2 separate regions of the Homo sapiens genome follow, and region 2 is linked to region 1. Evidence: promoter capture Hi-C in human tissues and cell types (Jung and others, 2019). All regions are on one chromosome and are shown on one strand. Each heading gives the region's core, a stretch centred on a gene start or on the middle of the fragment in contact. The rest is flanking DNA. Distances are from core to core; before and after follow the strand shown.

Region 1 (4,420 bases), core at 1,124-3,623:
CGAATTGAAGAGGGATGACTGTGGGATGGGATGACCAAGCTTGGGGGGAAGATCAGGAACTCTATTTTGGATATTTATTATTATTATTATTTGAGATGGAGTTTCGCTCTTGTTGCCCAAGCTGGAGTACAATGGTGCAATCTTGGCTCACCACAACCTCCGTCTCCCAGGTTCAAGCTATTCTCCTACCTCAGCCTCCTGAGTAGCTGGGATTACAGGCATGTGCCACTATGCCTGGCTAATTTTGTATTTTTAGTAGAGACGGAGTCGTTGGCCCGGCTGGTCTTGAACTCCTGACCTGGGGTGATCCGCCCACTTCGGCCCCCCAAAGTGCTGGGATTACAGGCGTGAGCCACCACACCTGGCCGGATATTTATTTATTTATTTTTATTTTTATTTTAGACGGAGTCTTGCTCTGTCGCCCAGGCTGGAGTACAGTGGCGCGATCTCGGCTTACTGCAGCCTCTGCCTCCCGAGTTCCAGTGATTCCCCTACCTCAGCCCCCTGGGTAGCTGGGATTACAGGTGCATGCCACCAAGCCCGGCTAATTTTTGTATTTTTAGTAGAGACGGGGTTTCACCATGTTGGCCAGGCTGGCCTCTAACTCCTGACCTCGTGATCTGCCTGCCTCGGCCTCCCAAAGTGCTGGGATTACAGGCATGAGCCACTGCGCCCGGCCATTTATTTTTAATGTAAACATTTTTTTGTAGAGATGAGATCTTGTTATGTTACCCAGTCTGGCCTCAAACTCTTGGGCTCAAGCACTCTTCCAGCCTTGACTCCCCAGAGTGCTGGGATTGCAAGAGTAAGCCACCAGTGCCTGGCTGAATATTTAAATTTAAGATGCTTCCTGATGCAGTGGCTCGCACCTTTGTTTAAATGTCTGCCTTCTCCATGAAGCCTACCTGAGTAGTTTATTTGCATTCCAGCCCATGCTTGATTTTTCTCCAAATACTCAACACCTTGGAATATACAATACTACCTATTTTTTACTTTTATGTATATTTTTGAGACAGGATTTCGCTTCTGGAGTGCATTGGTGTGATCACAGCTCACTGCAGACTGGAACTCCTGGGCTCAAGTGATGTCCCTTCCTCAGCCTCCTGAGTAGCTGGGACTACAGGTGCACACAGCCATGCCCAGTGAATTTTTACATTTCTTGTAGAGACAGGTTCTTGTTATGTTGCCTAGGCTGGCCTTGAACTCTTGGGCTCAAGCCATCCTCCCGCCTCAGCTTCCCAAAGTGCTGGGATTACAGGTGTGAGCCCCTGTGCCTGTCTACATATTTTTTAAAATTTTGAGTGTTGAGGCCAGGCGCAGTGGCTCATGCCTGTAAGCCCAGCACTTTGGGAGGCCGAGGTGGGCGGATCACCTGAGGTCGGGAGTTTGAGACCAGCCTGACCAACATGGAGAAACCCCGTCTCTACTAAAAATACAAAATTAGCCAGGAGTGGTGGCACATGCCTGTGATCCCAGCTACTCGGGAGGCTGAGGCAGGAGAATAGCTTGAACCTGGGAGGCGGAGGTTGCAGTGAGCCCAGATCACGCCATTGCACTCCAGCCTGGGCAACAAGAGCGAAACTCCGTCTCAAAAAAAAAAATTTGTGTGTTGGTTGGGCGCGGTGGCTCACGCCTGTAATTCCAGCACTTTGGGAGGCTGAGGCGGGAGGATCGCTTGAGCTCAAGAGTTCAAGACCAGCCTGGCCAACATGGTGAAACCCCGTCTCTACTAAAAAAATACAAAAATTAGCCGGGTGTGGTGGAGCATGCCTGTGTTCCCAGCTACTCGGGAGGCTGAGGCAGGAGAATTGCTTGAATCCGGGAGGCGGAGGTTGCAGTGAGCCGAGATCGCGCCACTGCACTCCAGCCTGGGAGACAGAGCGAGACTCCGTCTCAAAAAATAATAAAAATAAAAGTAGATTTGTGTGTATGTGGCTTCCTTTACTAGAAGGTAGTTTCATGAAAGTTGGGATTTTTTTCTGTTTTTAGTGCCTGCGTAAAACATAGTCTGGCACAGAATAGGTGTTCAATAAATATTTGTTGAATTTGTGTCGCTGAATGGGAACCCGGTGCAGTGCATTCCAAGCCTGAGCTGGTTCAGGTCCGATGGCGGGGCCTGCCCTTATGAATCATTCATGATCTGGCCCCGCCCATACGCGAACGACGCGCGCGTTCACGCCGGAGAGGGGGCGCGGCTCGCCCCCGGGCTGAGTCGGGCGGCCAGGAAGCGGGACTCTGCGCAGGCGCCAAGCTCCGGAGCGCGGCCTTGGTGCCTTTTCTGGTTTGGCAGGCGCGCGCGCGCGGGAGGGCGGCAACCTCGGCGCTGTGCGCAGGCGCGGCGGGCAGTGCGCAGGCGCGGGCGGAGGGCGGGCTGAAGCAGCTGAAGCGGCGGTAGCGGCGGCGGCTCGGGCAGAGGGGCGGGAGCTGAGGCGGGAGCGGACAGGCTGGTGGGCGAGCGAGAGGCGGCGGAATGGTGGACTACCACGCGGCGAACCAGTCGTACCAGTACGGCCCCAGCAGCGCGGGCAATGGCGCTGGCGGCGGGGGCAGCATGGGCGACTACATGGCCCAGGAGGACGACTGGGACCGGGACCTGCTGCTGGACCCGGCCTGGGAGAAGCAGCAGCGCAAGGTGCGCGGCCCGCGGGCCGGACGGGCTGGAGGGGCTTTTCTGAGGGGGCCCGGGGAGGGGTGGGAGGTCCTGAAAGGTAACTGGAGCGTCTGTGATGGGAACGGGGGGGTCCCGAGAAGGAATTGGCGGGTCCGGGAAGGGAATTGGAGTCCTGAGGAGGAATCGCCGAGCTAGAGGAAGGAATTGGGAATCTGAAAAGAGAATTGGCGGCTGGGTGGGGAATATGGGAGTCAAATAAAAGGAATCGGGAAGGCTGATGAAGGATTTGGAGGGTCTGGGCGTGCCATTAGGGGAAACCGAGGAGATGACTGGGCAGGCTGAAATGGAACTGGGATCCGAGGCGGGCTTGAAGGGTCGGAGCATGGGTTGGGGGTGCTGGGAGGAGAATCAGGGGAGGCTGAGAAGGGAATTTCTGGGTCTGGGAAGTGTGAGGAGGAGCTTGAGTGTGGAGGGGTTGGTTATTTGGAGAGCAGAAAGATCTGAAGGAGATTGGAATTGGGGGAGCCTCAGGTTGGGGGAGTTATAAAGGGGATGAAGAATCAAGTGTGAGGATGGAGTGGAGATTGTGGGGTCTGAAGACGGGTGGGAAGACTAGGGAGGCTGGGAAGATGAAAACAGGGGCTAAGGGTAGAATTGAGCATGAAAAGACATGGGCTTAGGGTGTGAGGAGGGTAGAGGTGCCAGGACTGGGGGTCTGAGGAGGGTGGGGTGCGGAAGGAAGAAGTTAAGGGGCCCGTGAATCAGACGTTTTTGAAGGGGGTGAGATTTATTTGTGGTGCCCTGTTCCAAAGGGGAGAAGATTAAGAGATAGGAGGAATAATAAGAGGAATTGATGAGGGATGGAGAAGCCGAAGTAGAGGGGATACGGAGAGTGGGGATAATTTGGGGAGGGATTTCTAAAGAATTGATGGGAAGCTGAAAAGCTAAAGCGTTGGAGAGAATGAGGAAGTGTAGAGGGAGAAGGTGAGATCGGTGGGAGGGAGGGTGAGCTGGAATGGTGGATAATGGGAGAGAGGTTCGTTTAGGAAAATGAAAGTCTCATTAGAAAGGGAATGCGTAATGGATAGACTGAGAAAGGAATTTGAGGAGGGGGTGCTGGCTCCTGGAGGTGCAGTCCCGGGACTGGAGAGCGTGTGTGTGTCGTGCAGGCAGAATGAGTTTGGGGAGGAAGCGTTGAGAGTGTCCAGGAAGAATTGTGTCTTTTTTGGAGAGACCGGAGGTAGGTGAAGGGATCCTGAAGCAGAGACTGTGTTCAGGTGGCACTGTTTTTTTGGGGGGCGGGGGGGGCAACTTGGTAGGGCCCCACAGCAGTGAAAAGGTGATCAGAAGTGGAGTGGGATCCCCGAGCGAGGTGTCAGTGTCTGTGGGGGGGGGATAAATCCAGTGTGGTTGAGGGGGGAGCTCTGAGTGTGTGCAGGAAGAGCTAAAGAAAGGAGCGTGGTGAGTGGGTGTGTGTGGGGGGAAGGGGTTGTTCAGAAGTTTTGTGCGTGAAATGGGTGGGAGGTACTTGAAGTTGGAAGCATTTCGTGGGATCTGGAGATCTGGATTTTCTTTCCAGATTTGTTACTGATTCGCTCTGTGGCCTTGGACAAGACCCTTGAACTCTCCGGGCAGTTTTGTTATCTGCAAAATGCAAAGGGATCCGAGGGTTCCCTGCGGTGATTCTGTTAATAAAGAGGGATGTGTGTAGAGTTGGGACTTTGGACAGGGCTCTGAAGGTTTGGGAGAGTGAGTTTGGTGGAGATTTTTCAGGAACAGGCTACAGGGCTTTGAGTGGTGACCTGGCAG
Region 2 (4,179 bases), core at 55-2,554, 760 kb after region 1:
TGGGCATACCACCTGGCATTAGGATTAATGTGCGTAAAGTACTTAGAACTCAGCCCAGGTGAGTTCTCCTTAACTCAGCCTAGAAGAGATCATCCGCCCGAGGGTGAGGGGGCTAGAGCCGCCCTGTGAATTGGGAAAGGAGGCCCCTTTTCAGCCTTGCCAGGTATCCTGGACCCCACCCAACCCACTCACTCACCCACCCAACCCCAGCAAGTGGGGAGAGGGAGAGCAGTCCAGGTCTCCTTATCTGTCTGGGCTGTTTAGGAGTGAGACCACACAAGGCAGGCAGTTCTCAGAGAATTCCCCTCCAAGGCCTGCTGGCTCTTTCTTGGCACTTTGCTCTGCAGATTTCTTTCCGTAAGTGCTTATTTCTCACAGTCTTTCTCCTTTTTGTCCAGTTTCTTTTTCTTTTTAATTTTTTTAAATAGTATTTTTTGTAGACATGGGATCTCACTGTTGCCCAGGCTGATCTTGAACTCCTGATCTCAGGTAATCCACCTGCCTCATCCTCTGAAAGTACTGGGATTGGCCGGGCTTGGTGGCTCACACCTGTAATTCCAGCTCTTTGGGAGGCGGAGGTGGGAGGATCGCTTGAGCCCCGGAGCTGGAGATTAGCCTGGGCAACATAGGGAAACCCCGTCTTTCAAAAAAAAAAAAAAAGAAGAAGAAAAAGGAAAGAAAAACACAAAAAGTGCTGGGATCACAGGTGTGAGCCACTGCGCTCAGCCCCTTTCTGTTTCTTTTTGTGATCCTCCCAACCCTCTTCTCCCTCTGAATCTGTCTCTGGGACTGTCTCTGTCTCCCCGTCTTCCCTCCCTTCCTCACCCTGTCTATCTCTCTCTGTATGTCTCTTGGTGTGTGTGTCTCTCTCGATGTTTTTCTCTCTGCCTGTCTGCCTGTCTGTACCCCTCTGCGTCTCTCCCCGCCCCCATCCGTCTGTGTCGCACGCGCACCCCCATCGGGCTTCTGCTCTTGTCAATTGCCCCTGGGGCCCTGCCCCCACCTCCGCCCCAGTTTCCTTCTACAAGCCTCAGTCTCCAGCTTTGAAAACTGGGCAGGCGTCCCCCCATCCGCACCCCCACCCCTTCCCCACGCATTCCCCGCTCGGTCACGGCTGTCCACCGGCCAAGCTCAGGCGCGTCCTGGCCCAGGGCCGGGCGGAAGGGAACCAGTCCAGGGCCAGCCAGGCTGCGCCGGGGGCGCGCGTCCGGGAAGCGCCCCTCCTGCCCCGCCCCCGGCCCCGGCCCCGGCCCCGCCCCGTGCTTGCAGTTTCCTATAAGTAGCCGGCTCTCGGTGCCAGCCTCAGCCTGACTTCAGCGCTCCCACTCTCGGCCGACACCCCTCATGGCCAACCGTTACACCATGGATCTGACTGCCATCTACGAGGTGAGTCCCCGCCGCACGGCATCCCCGGTACCTGCATGCCTGAGTCCGAGTCCCCACCTCTCTAGCGCCGCAAACTCCAGCCCGGGACGCTTGCCTCCCTTCTCCAACTGGGGCTCCCTAGCGCCGCGCCCTCCAGCCTGGGGCCCCTGCCTCCCGCTCAGACCAGCTTGGTGATTTGGAGGTGAAAATGGAACCCGCGACACCCGGCTCTTCGCTCAAACATGGGTGGGGCGGCCCATGCAAGTGGAAAGTCGGAGAACTTTTCTCAGACCGAGGCTGCCTGGAGGCGGAAGTGGCCCCCATACCTGGCTCACCCCTAGTCGTTGCTGAGGGCGTGGTTTTGCGCGGAGGCGTCTCTGGGGCTGAAGTCTCAGGGTGGGGGGATCCGACTTCTGTCTCTCCAGTCCCTGACCGTAGAGACAGAGAACCCTAAAACCGAAGCAATCCGGACTTCCAGGTCAACTTTGCCCGGTTTCTCCAGTTGTGAAACTGGAGATCCCGACGCGTGGGTCATATCCGGGGAGGACAAGAGACCCAAAATTGGGAAACAGTGGTGCGCCCTGACTTCGGGGTCCCCCTCTTGGTCCAGCCGGGGAAGCCGGGATTCCTGGGTCCCTCGGGATAAGGCCTCGGTGGTGGGTAAACTCAGAACCTCCAACTCTGGGTTCCTGGCATCCGGAACCCAGGGGTTTCTGCGGGCGGGTGGGGCTCAGGCGGGGAGCCCACAAACCGGCCTGGCAAGCTCTAGTTCCCTGCAGCTGGGGTGGGGCGTCGCCCTGCATTTTCAGGTGCCTTAACCGACCCATTTCCGCAGAGCCTCCTGTCGCTGAGCCCTGACGTGCCCGTGCCATCCGACCATGGAGGGACTGAGTCCAGCCCAGGCTGGGGCTCCTCGGGACCCTGGAGCCTGAGCCCCTCCGACTCCAGCCCGTCTGGGGTCACCTCCCGCCTGCCTGGCCGCTCCACCAGCCTAGTGGAGGGCCGCAGCTGTGGCTGGGTGCCCCCACCCCCTGGCTTCGCACCGCTGGCTCCCCGCCTGGGCCCTGAGCTGTCACCCTCACCCACTTCGCCCACTGCAACCTCCACCACCCCCTCGCGCTACAAGACTGAGCTATGTCGGACCTTCTCAGAGAGTGGGCGCTGCCGCTACGGGGCCAAGTGCCAGTTTGCCCATGGCCTGGGCGAGCTGCGCCAGGCCAATCGCCACCCCAAATACAAGACGGAACTCTGTCACAAGTTCTACCTCCAGGGCCGCTGCCCCTACGGCTCTCGCTGCCACTTCATCCACAACCCTAGCGAAGACCTGGCGGCCCCGGGCCACCCTCCTGTGCTTCGCCAGAGCATCAGCTTCTCCGGCCTGCCCTCTGGCCGCCGGACCTCACCACCACCACCAGGCCTGGCCGGCCCTTCCCTGTCCTCCAGCTCCTTCTCGCCCTCCAGCTCCCCACCACCACCTGGGGACCTTCCACTGTCACCCTCTGCCTTCTCTGCTGCCCCTGGCACCCCCCTGGCTCGAAGAGACCCCACCCCAGTCTGTTGCCCCTCCTGCCGAAGGGCCACTCCTATCAGCGTCTGGGGGCCCTTGGGTGGCCTGGTTCGGACCCCCTCTGTACAGTCCCTGGGATCCGACCCTGATGAATATGCCAGCAGCGGCAGCAGCCTGGGGGGCTCTGACTCTCCCGTCTTCGAGGCGGGAGTTTTTGCACCACCCCAGCCCGTGGCAGCCCCCCGGCGACTCCCCATCTTCAATCGCATCTCTGTTTCTGAGTGACAAAGTGACTGCCCGGTCAGATCAGCTGGATCTCAGCGGGGAGCCACGTCTCTTGCACTGTGGTCTCTGCATGGACCCCAGGGCTGTGGGGACTTGGGGGACAGTAATCAAGTAATCCCCTTTTCCAGAATGCATTAACCCACTCCCCTGACCTCACGCTGGGGCAGGTCCCCAAGTGTGCAAGCTCAGTATTCATGATGGTGGGGGATGGAGTGTCTTCCGAGGTTCTTGGGGGAAAAAAAATTGTAGCATATTTAAGGGAGGCAATGAACCCTCTCCCCCACCTCTTCCCTGCCCAAATCTGTCTCCTAGAATCTTATGTGCTGTGAATAATAGGCCTTCACTGCCCCTCCAGTTTTTATAGACCTGAGGTTCCAGTGTCTCCTGGTAACTGGAACCTCTCCTGAGGGGGAATCCTGGTGCTCAAATTACCCTCCAAAAGCAAGTAGCCAAAGCCGTTGCCAAACCCCACCCATAAATCAATGGGCCCTTTATTTATGACGACTTTATTTATTCTAATATGATTTTATAGTATTTATATATATTGGGTCGTCTGCTTCCCTTGTATTTTTCTTCCTTTTTTTGTAATATTGAAAACGACGATATAATTATTATAAGTAGACTATAATATATTTAGTAATATATATTATTACCTTAAAAGTCTATTTTTGTGTTTTGGGCATTTTTAAATAAACAATCTGAGTGTAAGCTGGGATCCTGGCTTCTTCGCGGTCTAGAGACAGGAATGGAGAGGGAGGGGGTGACTTTTTGGAAGCTGGGTGCAGTTAACTCTTCCTCTCCGAGCCCCGCGGCGCTTACCTGGCAGGAAGTGACGTCACCGGGCCTGGCCGTTCACCTGAAAGGGTGGGACCAGGTGAGGTCACCAGATGGGAACCGGGGGAGCCAGTTCCCGGGCGTCGGGGGCGCCGCGCTCCCGTCCTGCTGGGCTCCTTGACCCAGCTTCGGGCGGGTGCGGTCGGGGACGGGATGTTTCCGTCCCCACGGGGCCGCGGGAGGCGGGA

The links. Contacts are between HindIII fragments. The study calls those that stand out against the background at their distance.
Region 2: a contact is called between the fragment with the promoter of ZFP36 here and the fragment with the promoter of ACTN4 in region 1, in 1 of the 25 tissues and cell types used here (dorsolateral prefrontal cortex).

What each region holds. Positions count from the first base shown.
Region 1 is chr19:38,645,276-38,649,695 of GRCh38, forward strand. It overlaps ACTN4 (actinin alpha 4), which reads left to right and starts at 2,374. Exons shown (of 21, transcript NM_004924.6): 1 at 2,374-2,632. The coding sequence starts at 2,471. RefSeq lists silencers at 2,214-2,403, 2,634-2,713, 3,897-4,095, 4,054-4,348 and an enhancer at 4,054-4,348. The HindIII fragment of the contact is 19,413 bases long and covers 1-4,420 here.
Region 2 is chr19:39,405,543-39,409,721 of GRCh38, forward strand. It overlaps ZFP36 (ZFP36 ring finger protein), which reads left to right and starts at 1,305. Exons shown (of 2, transcript NM_003407.5): 1 at 1,305-1,386; 2 at 2,201-3,865. The coding sequence starts at 1,363. The coding sequence ends at 3,157. MIR4530 (microRNA 4530) reads right to left here and starts at 4,136; the gene lies at 4,081-4,136. RefSeq lists silencers at 899-1,348, 4,139-4,179 and enhancers at 1,469-1,668, 1,719-2,356, 2,357-2,995, 2,996-3,633, 3,896-4,179. The HindIII fragment of the contact is 20,061 bases long and covers 1-4,179 here.